2 separate regions of the Homo sapiens genome follow, and region 1 is linked to region 2. Evidence: promoter capture Hi-C in human tissues and cell types (Jung and others, 2019). All regions are on one chromosome and are shown on one strand. The core of a region is centred on a gene start or on the middle of the fragment in contact, and the rest is flanking DNA. Distances in the headings are between cores, read along the strand shown.

Region 1 (6,575 bases), core at 357-2,856, 35 kb before region 2:
AGCTTCATCCCCACTGAAATGCCTATTTTCCTGCATTTTTATCAGGATTAGCTGTTTTGCAATCTTTACAACTTTTTGCCCCACTAATAAGGTAAGAAAGTATCTTATCTCAAGTATTCTTACCTTCTCTTTCAGAGGTAAACTGTATGACGTAATGGATATGTTAATTACCTTGATTGTGGTACTCATTTTAGAATGTATAAGTTTATCAGAACATCATGTTTTGTACACCTTAAATATATACAATTTTTATTTTTCAATCATACCTCAATAAACCTGAAAAAAAGTCATTCAGAAAGGAATCAAACAGTAGATACTAGCATTAAAAATATGTTATAAATTTTCAAGCATAGAATGATAACATAAGATTAGGAACAAGAATACGTGTGTATAGATTTTAACATTTATATCTGTGAATATTAATCAATATATACAGATCTTGAAGGCAAGTTACAATTGTGAAGAAAATGAAAATTATGTTGTGTACCTATAATATGAAAATAAAAAATCACACAAAGGCATATACCTTCACTCAAGGATGCATACTCGAGTGTACATATTATTTATAATAACCTAAATTTGTAAACAGCCCCAAATGTCCATTAACTTGTGAATGAATAAACCAACAGTGATACTTTGAAAGAATGGAATACTATTCAGCAATAAAAAGGAACTAACTACTGACTCGGCAATATTCGTGAATCTCAAAAATATTATGCTAAGTGAAAGAGAGATGACATACTATGTGATTTCTTTTAAAATTTCTAGAGAAGACAAAATTCAGGACAGAAAGCAGATCAGTGGATGCCAGGAGTAGGAGTTAAGGGAGGAAATTTATTGCAAAGGAAATGTAGGGGACTGATTGTGGTGATGTTTGAAATGTTCTATGTCATGATCATGGTTGTGGTTACATGACTATTCTGAAAGTTCGTTAAGTTGTACACTTCAAATTGCTGATGCTCATTATATGTTAATTATACCTTAAAGCTAATAATTCATATTTAATCTCCTTGTGGTTTTGATTTGCATTTCTCTGATGGCCAGTGATGATGAGCATTTTTTCATGTGTCTTTTGCCGGCATAAATGTGACTGTTCATATCCTTTGCCCACTTTTTGATGGCGTTGTTTGATTTTTTCTTGTAAATTTGTTTCAGTTCTTTGTAAATTCTGGATATTAGCCCTTTGTCAGATGGGTAGATTGTAAAAATTCTCTCCCACCCTGTAGGTTGCCTGTTCACTCTGATGGTAGTTTCTTTTGCTGTGCAGAAGCTCTTTAGTTTGATTAGATCCCATTTGTCAATTTTGGCTTTTGTCGCCATTGCTTTTGGTGTTCTAGTCATGAAGTCCTTGCCCATGCCTACGTCCTGAATAGTATTGCCTAGGTTTTCTTCTAGGGTTTTTATGGCTTTAGGCCTAACATTTAAGTCTTTAATCCATCTTGAATTAATTTTTATATAAGGTGTAAGGAAGGGATCCAGTATCAGCTTTCTACATATGGCTAGGTAGGTTTCCCAGCACCATTTATTAAATAGGGAATCCTTTCCTCATTTCTTGTTTTTGTCAGGTTTGTCAAAGATCAGATGGTTGTAGATGTGTGGTATTATTTCCTAGGACTCTATTCTGTTCCATTGGTCTGTATCTCTGTTTTGGTACCAGTACCATGCTGTTTTGGTTACTGCAGAGTTGTAGTATAGTCTGAAGTCAGGTAGTGTGATGCCTCCAGCTTTGTTCTTTTGGCTTAGGATAGTCTTGGCAATGCGGGCTCTTTTGTGGTTCTATATGATCTTTAAAGTAGTTTTTTCCAATTCTGTGAAGAAAGTCATTGGTAGCTTGATGGGGATAGCATTGAATCTGTAAATTACCTTGGGCAGTATGGCCATTTTCACAATATTGATTCTTCCTATCCATGAGCATGGAATGTTCTTCCATTTGTTTGTATCCTCTTTTATTTCATTGAGCAGTGGTTTGTAGTTCTCCTTGAAGAGGTCCTTCACATCCCTTGTAAGCTGGATTCCTAGGTATTTTATTTTCTTTGAAGCAATTGTGAATGGGAGTTCACTCAAGATTTGGCTCTCTGTTTGTCTGTTATTGGTGTATAGGAATGCTTGTGATTTTTGCACATTGATGTTGTATCCTGAGATTTTGCTGAAGTTGCTTATCAGCTTAAGGAGATTTTGGACTGAGATGATGGGATTTTCTAAATATACAATCATGTCATCTGCAAACAGGGACAATTTGACTTCCTCTTTCCCTAGTTGAATACCATTTATTTCTTTCTCTTGCCTGACTGCCCTGGCCAGAACTTCCAACACTATGTTGAATAGGAGTGGTGAGAGAGGGCATCCCTGTCTTGTGCCAGTTTTCAAAGGGAATGCTTCCAGTTTTTGCCCATTCAGTATGATATTAGTTGTGGGTTTGTCATAAATAGCTCTTATTATTTTGAGATACATCCCATCAATACTTAGTTTATTGAGAGTTTTTAGCATGAAGTGTTGTTGAATTTTGTCGAAGGCCTTTTCTGCATCTATTGAGATGATCATGTGGTTTTTGTCATTTGTTCTGTTTATATGCTGGATTACATTTATTGATTTGTGTATGTTGAACAAGCCTTGCATCCCAGGGACAAAGCCAACTTGATCGTGGTGGATAAGCTTTTTGATATGCTGCTGGATTTGGTTTGCCAGGATTTTATTGAGGATTTTTGCATTGATGTTCATCAGGGATATTGGTCTAAAATTCTCTTTTTGTTGTGTCTGTGCCAGGCTTTGGTATCAGGATGATGTTGGCCTCATAAAATGAATTAGGGAGGATTCCCTCTTTTTCTATTGATTGGAATAGTTTCAGAAGGAATGGTACCAGCTCCTCTTTGTACCTCTGGTAGAATTCGGCTGTGAATCCATCTGGTCCTAGACTCTTTTTGGTTGGTAGGCTATTAATTATTGCCTCAATTTCAGAACCTATTATGGTCTATTCAGGGATTCAACTTCTTCCTGGTTTTGTCTTGGCAGGGTGTTCTGTGTCCAGGAATTTATCCATTTCTTCGAGATTTTCTAGTTTATTTGCATAGAGGTGTTTATACTATTCTCTGATGATAGTTTGTATTTCTGTGGGATCGGTGGTGATATCCCCTTTATCATTTTTTATTGCATCTATTTGATTCTTCTCTCTTCTTTATTAGTCTTGCTAGCGGTCTATCAATTTTGTTGATCTTTTCCAAAAACATCTCCTGGATTCATTGATTTTTTGAAGGGTTTTTTGTGTCTCTGTCTCCTTCAGTTCTGCTCTGATCTTAGTTATTTCTTGCCTTCTGCTAGCTTTTGAATGTGTTTGCTCTTGCTTCTCTAGTTCTTTTAATTGTGATGTTAGGGTGTCAGTTTTAGATCTTTCCTGCTTTCTGTTGTGGGCATTTAGTGCTATAAATTTCCCTCTACACACTGCTTTAAATGTGTCCCACAGATTCTGGTATGTTGTGTCTTTGTTCTCATTGGTTTCAAAGAACATCTTTATTTCTGCATTCATTTCCTTATGTACCCAGTAGTCATTCAGGAGCAGGTTGTTCAGTTTCCATGTAGTTGAGTGGTTTTGAGTGAGTTTCTTAATCCTGAGTTCTAGTTTGATTGCACTGTGGTCTGAGAGATAGTTTGTTATAATTTCTGTTCTTTTACATTTGCTGAGGAGTGCTTTACTTCCAACTATGTGGTCAATTTTGGAATAGGTGTGGTGTGGTGCTGAAAAAAATGTATATTCTGTTGATTTGGGGTGGAGAGTTCTGTAGATGTCTATTAGGTCCACTTGGTGCAGAGCTGAGTTCAATTCCTGGATATCCTTGTTAACTTTCTGTCTCGTGGATCTGTCTAATGTTGACAGTGGGGTGTTAAAGTCTCCCATTATTATTATGTGGGAGTCTGAGTCTCTTTGTAGGTCTCTAAGGACTTGCTTTATGAATCTGGGTGCTCCTGTATTGGGTGCATATATATTTAGGATAGTTAGCTCTTCTTGTTGAATTGATCCCTTTACCATTATGTAATGGCCTTCTTTGTCTCTTCTGACCTTTGTTGGTTTAAAGTCTGTTTTATCAGAGACTAGGATTGCAACCCCTGCATTTTTTTGTTTTCCATTTGCTTGGTAGATCTTTCTCCATCCCTTTATTTTGAGCCCATGTGTGTCTCTGCACATGAGATGGGTCTCCTGAATACAGTGCACTGATGGGTCTTGACTCTTTATCCAATTTCCAGTCTGTGTCCTTTAATTGGAGCATTTATCCCATTTACATTTAAGGTTAATATTGTTATGTGTGAATTTGATCCTGTCATTATGATGTTAGCTGCTTATTTTGCTCGTTAGTTGATGCAGTTTCTTCCTAGCCTCGATGGTCTTTACAATTTGGGATGTTTTTGCAGTGGCTGCTACCGGTGGTTGTTCCTTTCCATATTTAGTGCTTCCTTCAGGAACTCTTGTAGGGCAGGTCTGGTGGTGATAAAAATCTCTCAGCATTTGCTTGTCTGTAAAGTATTTTATTTCTCCTTCACTTATGAAGCTTAGTTTGGCTGGATATGAAATTCTGGGTTGCAAATTCTTTTCTTTAAGAATGTTGAATATTGGCCCCCAGTCTCTTCTGGCTTGTAGAGTTTCTGCTGAGAGATCTGCTGTTAGTCTGATGGGCTTCCCTTTGTGAGTAACCCGACCTTTCTCTCTAGCTGCCCTTAACATTTTTTTCCTTCATTTCAGCTTTGGTGAATCTGACAATTACATGTCTTGGAGTTGCTCTTCTTGAGTATCTTTGTGGCATTCTCTGTATTTCCTCAATTTGAATGTTAACTTGCCTCGCTAAGTTGGGGAAGTTCTCCTGGATAATATCCTGCAGAGTGTTTTCCAACTTGGTTCCATTCTCCCCGTCACTTTCAGGTACACCAATCAGACATAGTTTTGGTCTTTTCACATAGTCCCACATTTCTTGGAGGCTTTGTTCATTTCTTTTTACTCTTTTTTCTCTAAGCTTCTCTTCTCACTTCATTTCATTCATTTGGTCTTCAATCACTGATACCCTTTCTTCCACTTGATCAAATCAGCTACCGAAGCTTGTGCATGTGTCACATAGTTCTTGTGCCATGGTTTTCAGCTCCATCAGGTCAGTTAAGGACTTCTCTACACTGGTTATTCAGTTAGAAATTCGTCTAATCTTTTATCGAGGTTTTTAGCTTCTTTGCGATGGGTTCGAACATCCTCCTTTAGCTCGGAGAAGTTTGTTATTACTGATCGTCTGAAGCCTTCTTCTCTCAACTCATCAAAGTCATTCTCTGTCCAGCTTTGTTCTGTTGCTGGTGAGGAGCTGTGTTCCTTTGGAGGAGAAGAGGCACTCTGATTTTCAGAATTTTCAGCTTTTCTGCTCTGGTTTCTCCCCATCTTTGTGGTTTTATCTGCCTTTGGTCTTTGATCATGGTGATGTACAGACGGGGTTTTGGTGTGGATGTCCTTTCTGTTTGTCAGTTTTCCTTCTAACAGTCAGGACCCTCAGCTGCAGGTCTGTTGGAGTTTGCTGGAGGTCCACTCCAGACCCTGTTTGCCTGGGTATCAGAAGCAGAGGCTGCAGAACAGCGAATATTGCTGAACAGCAAATGTTGCTGCCTGATCGTTCCTCTGGAAGTTTCATCTCAGAGGGGTACCCGGCCATGTGAGGTGTCAGTCTGCCCCTACTCAGGGGTGCCTCCCAGTTAGGCTACTCGGGGTTCAGGGACCCACTTGAGGAGACAGTCTGTCCATTCTCAGATCTCAAACTCTGTGCTGGGAGAACCACTACTCTCTTCAAAGCTGTCAGACAGGGACATTTAAGTCTGCAGAGGTTTCTTCTGCCTTTTGTTCAGCTAGGTCCTGCCCCCAGAGGTGGAGTCTACAGAGGCAGGCAGCCCTCCTGGAGCTGCGGTGGGCTCCATCCAGCTCGAGCTTCCCGGCCGCTTTGTTTACCTACTCAAGCCTCAGCAAATGCGGGCACCCCTCCCCCAGCCTCACTGCCACCTTGCAGTTCGATCTCAGACTGCTGTGCTAGCAATGAGTAAGGCTCCATGGGCATGGGACCCTCCAAGCCAGGCACGGGATATAATTGTGCCATTTGCTAAGACCATTGGAAAAGCGCAGTATTAGGGTGAGAGTGACCCAATTTTCTAGGTGCCTTCTGTCACAGCTTTGCTTGGCTATGAAAGGGAATTCCCTGACCCCTTGCACTTCCGGGGTGAGGTGATGCCTTGACCTGCATCGGCTCATGCTCGGTGCGCTGCACCCACTGTCCTGCACCCACTGTCCGACAAGCCCCAGTGAGATGAACCCAATACCTCAGTTGGAAATGCAGAAATCACCCATCTTCTGCGTTGCTCATGCTGGGAGCTGTAGACTGGAGCTGTTCCTATTTGGCCATCTTCCACTTTACCACTTATCATTAGTTTTAAAGAAAAAAAAATTGACATAATGGAAATTTTCACTATACCTCAGGAAGGGAACTCAGTGGAAAAGTAAGCTTCCTATTCCCTCTTGACCTTCAGTTTATACTTTTCTTCCTAAGTCAAGTACTACTACTGGTTTC
Region 2 (6,961 bases), core at 3,222-5,721:
AAATTATACTTGATTGTATTAAATATATATATATATGATAAAATAAAATTCTATGATAGGGGATGTGGCATCTTGAAGGCCTAGTTGGGCTGCGTGTGCCATTAAGATATACAGGGCTGCAGAAAAGTAAACCCCAAATAGAATATTCCTTTATCCCTTGAATGTTGGAAGGATAATTAGATCAGATATGATCACGTTGAATTGATCAGATTGGAGCCAGTGCTAACTCAATCAACTTCCAATTCCTAAGGCAGCAGAAAGCCCAGCTGGAGAGGGAAACTTCTGCTCTATCTCACCCTCCCTCATTCATCCTGGGAGCCACATTGTGTTCTGTAGAATTTGCTCAGGATTCACAATCTGAGCTGATAAACTTACCTGGATTATCGTAACCCTTACCATTTTGGTATTTTCTTTTTGTTTCTCAGTTTAAAATGGGTTGTGAATATTACTAATGCATCATAAGTTTTCAGACACCCAGTATGTCACTTGTCTGGGTCCAGTCCTAGGAAATCAATACCTAAATTCAAAAAATCATCCTAAGATTAATCTTTGAAAGCTGCCTGTGATGATTCGGACTCACTGACCTCCCTTCTCTTCAACCTACAGAGAAAGCGAAAGAGCTACCAAGTCTTAGGGCACATGGACAGAACCAGAAGATGCCCAGTGAAGTGCTAGGATAGGGTACAGTCCCATAGCTTTTGGGCCAAATGAGAAGGAAAAGCAGAACCTGGGACCAGGAAAGCCCCAGCAGCTCCAGACTCCAGGACTCTTTACCAAGACTGATGGGAGGAACTAAGGCAAAGATGAGACACCTGTCACCAAGACACCTGTCTTGGCTGCTTCCACTTCTGACTCAGTTGTGTTGGTGTGAATGCAAAACTGGCTCTCTGGCTCCCAAGAATGTATAAATCCAGGACAGAAAACCAAGCATTTGGGCACCAGGCAAGAGGTCTTTCCAGATTCCCCAAACAGACTTTTCAGAATTCCCCAAAGATACTGAAACTCAGACCCATTCTGACCCCACCCCAAAAAGTATCATAAATGGAATCTGGGAGCCATTCAGAGTCTCCAGCCTCCTCTTTGGTGAAAATGGACTTGGACCTAAAAAGGCACCCCATTGTCCACAAGGACACAAATTCAGATGCTGAGCACTGGCCTCCTGCCTTCCGATGACGGATCTTACCTGAGTCCCATCAAAGCCCATACTGTTCCCCAACCTCCACCATCCAGACATTAGGAACAATCCCTCAGAACTGTCTTGATGAGATGGGACAAGCAGTGGTAGAGGTCCAGATTCAGAATGGTTGCCTCATCTTTCCCTTCTGAGAAGTCTATACCTGCTGGTCTGAGCCTTCATCCCTTACATGGCTTAGCCCATGTCCCAGGAAGTGCCCCCTAAAAGAACCTTCTAGTATTTTTCTCCCCTGAAGAGAGGGTCCATGAGACACTCTATGCCAGGAAATACATGACCTCCATTCTCACATGACTTGATTGACTGATAAACTGATACCCTGAGAAAGAAAAAGATGCAGGGAACATCTTGTGTGTGGTGAATCTGTGCTCCTCAGCTGTGGTGCCTGTGCAAATGGTGGAACCCAAAAGAATATTGGGTGGTAGACACACAGACCCTACCTAATAAAATTATGTAAGTTTAGGTTTAATATAGATGGAACTTATAATGTCATATAAAATGTTGTTACTTATTTTGTAAGAAAGCTGAGTTAGATTTTGTAAAGGCATTAAATATAATTTTAATGGGAAGCTATGAAAATTGTGTGCATTTGGTGTGTAAATGACTCATTTTGGGTAATTCTGTAAAGGCCACCTATGAATGTGAGTCATTAGTAACCAAATCTCCTATAGATAGCATATTGCATATTCATTTTAATGTATTCTTTTACCTGAGCTCAATTTTTCTTAATTTTATTCATCAAATTTTATACGCTTTAGATAAAAGACACCTTGTAGTTACCATGTGCTCTATGGATCTCTATTTTGTTAGAAATACAGATTTTCAGGCAAAACCCAAGTATATCGTATCAAAATCAGGTTTTTAAATAATATTCCCAGGTGATTCACATGCATATTAATAATTGTTAAGTGGGGGTAATTCTATAATTAAAAGGGAAAAGGTTATATGAGTGTATTTATTTGTTAAAAAGGTACAGAAAAGATTGTATGTTTCAATGTATATACATCTTATCTCATAGAAAATAACTAAAAACAATAATAAAGTGGGGATGGGGAATGAGTTGAAGTAGAAGTTAAACAGAAATGGCACATAATTAGTAGATGTTTAGGCTGAGCATCAGTCTATTATACTACATTGCTTATTGCATATATGTTTAAAATATTCTCTAATAAAATAATTGTATAAAAAGACAAACTTTATCTACAACATTAGCTCTTAAGATTGTGGTTACTTTTGGAGGGGAGGAAAAGAGAAAGTGGTTTGTGTGGCAGAAACAAGGCTAGTTCTATCCTATGCCTACACAAATGTATTTGTTTGTAATAATTTACTGAGCATTATGTTAATGCTTTGGACATATATTTCTGTATGCATGTCATTCAATAAAATTTAAATATTACATATTTAATCTTAACAGAATAATAGCAATGTTTGGTATTGTTTTGTTTGAAAGTGAGGCATTTAGTGTCAGACATCATGAGATGGGTATTAATATTCCAAGGTATTTATTCACATCCTGACTCTTGGGGGTCCCCCTCGATCTTTCATTTTTACCTCAATTGAGTAAGTAGCATGGTTGTAGTTTTGGGGAATGCAATTTTTTACAGCAAAGTCCTTCCTCCACGATAGTACTCACCACGGCCAGGACACTTAGCACAGGGCCCTGTACGTAGTGTGCACTCAGTGTGTGTGGAACTGGTGTGAATCAGAAACAAAACAAGTAGCAGAGGTCAGTTCTGCAAAGGATAGAAAGTAAGTAATCAAGACTGAAAGGCCGCAACTCAGCAGCAAACACTTCTATGTTAATTTGAGAAATAATTTCAACTGGCTCTCCAAAAGATGTTGGTTTAAAGCAGTAACATGGGAGTTGAGCTGTGTGCTATAATCACCCGAGAGCTTTAAATCACACTGTTGCCTAGGTCTCACTCCAGAGATTGACTTAATTACCCCATTGCAACTTGGGTTTGAAGACTTTAAACACTCCTCTACAAGGTTATTGAAATATGCAGCCAAGGGTGAGAAGCATTGATTCAGGGTGAGGAATACATTGGCTGTATGTGATTTTTATGTGTGCTTTAGGGATTTGCCCCATAGCTGCTCCTGAATGTGGGGTCTTAGAAAACATCTTTACCCTTCAAAGCATATTCTGCTGATTGGCTAAATTGCAGCAGGAAAAAATATCAGCAGCTCTGTCTTTATGTCACTTGCCTTCAAAGCAAAAGATTTTTCAGGCACAGTAATTTGATTTAGTCTGTGTTAAAAATCATAAATAGCCTAGAAATACAAAAAAAAAGAGGTGTTCAGGCCTTCACCTCCCTGAGATCGGAGCATCAGAGCCCTCATGGCTGCTGGTTTGAAGTAAAATGTGCTGCAAACATAAAATACACAGCGAGTTTAAAAGATTTAGATCCAAAATATTTATAATTATTTGTTGACCACACATGAAAAATAATATTTTGGGTATAATGGCTTAAAGAGTATTACAAACAATTTCACTTGTTTCTTTTTATTATTCCTATTATTTCTGAGATGGAGTCTTGCTCTGTCACCCAGGCTGCAGTGCAGTGGCACAAACTCAGCTCACTGCAACCTCCACCTCCTGGGTTCAAGCGATTCTCCTGCCTCAGCCTCCCAAGCAGCTGGGATTACAGGCGCCCGCCACCATGCCCGGCTAATTTTTGTATTTTTAGTAGACAGGGCTTCATTATGTTGGCCAGAGTGGTCTCGAACTTCTGACCTCTGGCCTCTCAGAGTGCTGGGATTACAGGCGTGAGCCACCATGTCAGGACTCTTTTTATTACTATTTTTGATCTGGCTAATAAGACATTTAAAATTCACAATAGCTAACGTTTTATTTTTTAGAGGATTGCTTCTCTCTTAAAATCTTAGGTGTCCCACTCCAAAGACCGGCGGCCAGAAAGGTTATGAAATCTGAAATATTAAATAATTGTCATTATATTGCTTCCATTTGTGAACAACGTGTGTGTGTGTTTTATAAACGAACATAACCTTCATAACGTTATACACCACAATGCTAAAAAAATGACCCCTGGGCAGAGCCAGGCGCAGCACAGACAGAAAGCCCTGCCTGAAAGTGACTGGAGCCAAGAGCCTGTCACTCTCGGCTCATTCCGTGCAGTGTATGGTAGCATCTTCTGACACGCAAGGCCTGAGGTCGCGGTGCCTGCACTACTATCCAATCAGGGCTCTGGGGTGGGAACTGTCCAATCAGGCGCGCAGCCAGGGAGGAAGGGGCGGCTTCCGGAATCTGGCGCGGCCTTTGTCTCACTTCAGCCAGAGCGCGGGGTTAGGGCTTCATTGCCTTGTGTCCTCTGCTCCGGGAGACTTCGGTGATTCTGCCACTCACTCCGTCGCTCTGTGACCTGCTGGCATTGAATGATTTATAGCTAAGACTCCAGGACACCCCTGAAGCCGAGAAATGGTGAGTGTGGGGGGCAGGGCGTACCGAGACTGGGGAGGGGGCTCCTTGGAACCGGCTGGACATGGCGGTGACGGGACCTAGTCTGCGAGTCGAGTCTGCAGCTCAGCCCTCAGTCCCCTCCGGTGCAGGGACTCCGGGCGTCCTGTCCTGTCCCTGCACGGCGGCTTTGGCCCCAGCCTGTAGCCCTCTTTGCGCAGCTCTGCGCCCGCAGCCCTGCATCTTCCCCAGGTTGTGAGGTGATGAGGCGAAAGTCATCGGAAAGACGCCGACTCGGTGTGCAGGGTTCCTGCGTGGAAGGAGCTGTGGTCCGTGGGGTCCCCCGTCCCTACCTTACCCTGTTCGGAATTAGACTGAGGCGCCATTAAAACATAGACAGCTTATATGAGTAAACAGTGATTAATTAATGGGACAGCGCTCAGCAATGGTTTGTGGTTGGGGGGCTACTAGAAGGTCTTGAAAGAAAGGCTTGTATAAGGTGTGTGAGGAAGCAAAGACAATTAAATAATTGGGTACAGTTATGTAGTCGCTTTATTTGGAGTGTCTGGGTGGAAATTTCCTGGTTATGTAATCAGGGATTAATTGGAGGTTTGTAGTTGTTTAAGCTTGAATTTCGTTTCCTCCTAAGGTAGTAACTTAGAAAAAAATGCATTTGAGTTAGATTTCTTTTTTTACATAGAGGCCTAGACCACTAGAGCCACTTCAGTCTAAATGACTGCTATGTAATTATTTTAACTTTAATCAAAGACACTGGTTTTCGCCTGCATTTTCCAAATGTGTGGCAAGCAGGGTCTCACATCCACTACTCTGTTCTGCCAGCCTAACCTGGCTTGAAGTAAAATCTTAAATTTCCGGTTTCTTGCTGACATTCCCCAAAGCCAACTTCTACGCTCCCATACATTATCAACTGTTTTTGTCCTTTATTGCACATTTCAGAAACAGTATTTGAATTAATCACTTTTTCACAGAGCAGTGGATGGCAATTTGTAAAATACTTATTTTCTACTTACAAATATTTCACATGAGAAAAAAGCAGAAAATAATCCCCTGGCACTCAACTGTAAAAAATCTTTCTGCTGTTTCTCCTTGTATCCTCCCTTAGCACAAACGCCCTTATTAGGCCATCTTGGGATTGAGGTTTTCGTTGGGAAACTTTATGGGGCAATGTTTCCTTAGCCACATTCGGGCCTTTTTCTAGTCCTGAGTTTTAGAACTGTCTTGAGATGGCCCAAGATACAAACCAGAGCCATGTATTTTGGGAGTTCTGGTGAATAGCAGCCCTTTGGTAATCTTCCAGAGGACACACTGAGGGATGGGAGTGCAGCTTCTCAAAGGAGCAGCTGAATGCCCTGGGGGTGAGAGAAATATCCAGGCTTACCCTTCCTGTAAAAAAAGAATCCCTTGGGATTTTTAAGATTTTTTTTTTTTTTCCCCCAACCCCAGTTTTCATTCCATGGAAACACATTGCTTGTCAGCCAATCAGATGCTGGTATTCAGAGAAAAAGATAGACTATTCCTGTCTTCTGAATTGTCTTATATTTGCGAAGGGAGAGAAACTAACCTGAAGGACAAGAAAAACCCACCCCAGGGAGGCAGTGCAAGAACCTGCAAAGCAAAAAGCACAGTGGGGCACAGTGCAGTGTCTCCTGGGAGGGTGGGCATTGAGCACTTCAGTGAGGAGTATGGGGGTGATAGAAAGTCCCAAGGGATAAGGTGGCCTGATTTGACACTTGAGTCATATGTCCCTGTTCCAGAAAGCACTGCCACTCCCTGAGTTTGTCCCCCTGTATAGATTTGCTCACTTATTTCAACTTCGGTTTTTTTAATTAACTGTAAATTGGATCTCAAAGGATAGGCAGAAAAGGGCTTTTAAAAAAAGTTGGAAAGAGCAAATAAGATTAGAAGGAAGGTGAGAGAGGGTGGGCAGAATGAAGTGTGGCAAAATCAGATTCTAAATCAGAGAGCGTTCAACCCTGAAGTCAGCTTTTTCTTAGGAGGTTAATAAAGAGAGATTGAATGTTGAATCAGGCTGAGAATAGGTCAAAGTTCAGGGATCTGAACAAATAGGCTTTTTTTTTTTTTTGACCATCGGAGATGAAATTGTTCAGCCAATTGTATATGAGAAAAAAATGGAAATGTGTGGTCCATGTCTGACTCTGTGATAGGTTTAGAAAAAAAGAAGAGAGAGTATTATTGAAGTCACAATGGGAAGGGTGTCTCTTTTCGTTAAGCTGATTTCGGAGAACAAAAAGCATGAGGAATTTTTTGTCACAGCTATTTAGCAGAATTACCTACCTGCCCCAGCTTTCACCACCACTTTTTCTTGCCCTATG

Evidence for each region. Contacts are between HindIII fragments. The study calls those that stand out against the background at their distance.
Region 1: a contact is called between a fragment that was not itself captured here and the fragment with the promoter of ZNF519 in region 2, in 2 of the 25 tissues and cell types used here (ovary and stomach).

The regions. Positions count from the first base shown.
Region 1 is chr18:14,162,511-14,169,085 of GRCh38, reverse strand. No RefSeq gene overlaps it. Among named protein-coding and RNA genes, the nearest start is that of ZNF519, 33 kb to the right of the region's middle. The HindIII fragment of the contact is 8,377 bases long and covers 1-5,794 here.
Region 2 is chr18:14,129,945-14,136,905 of GRCh38, reverse strand. It overlaps ZNF519 (zinc finger protein 519), which reads left to right and starts at 4,471. Exons shown (of 3, transcript NM_145287.4): 1 at 4,471-4,631. The coding sequence starts at 4,629. RefSeq lists a silencer at 4,211-4,270 and enhancers at 4,521-4,860, 4,763-5,284. The HindIII fragment of the contact is 15,609 bases long and covers 1-6,961 here.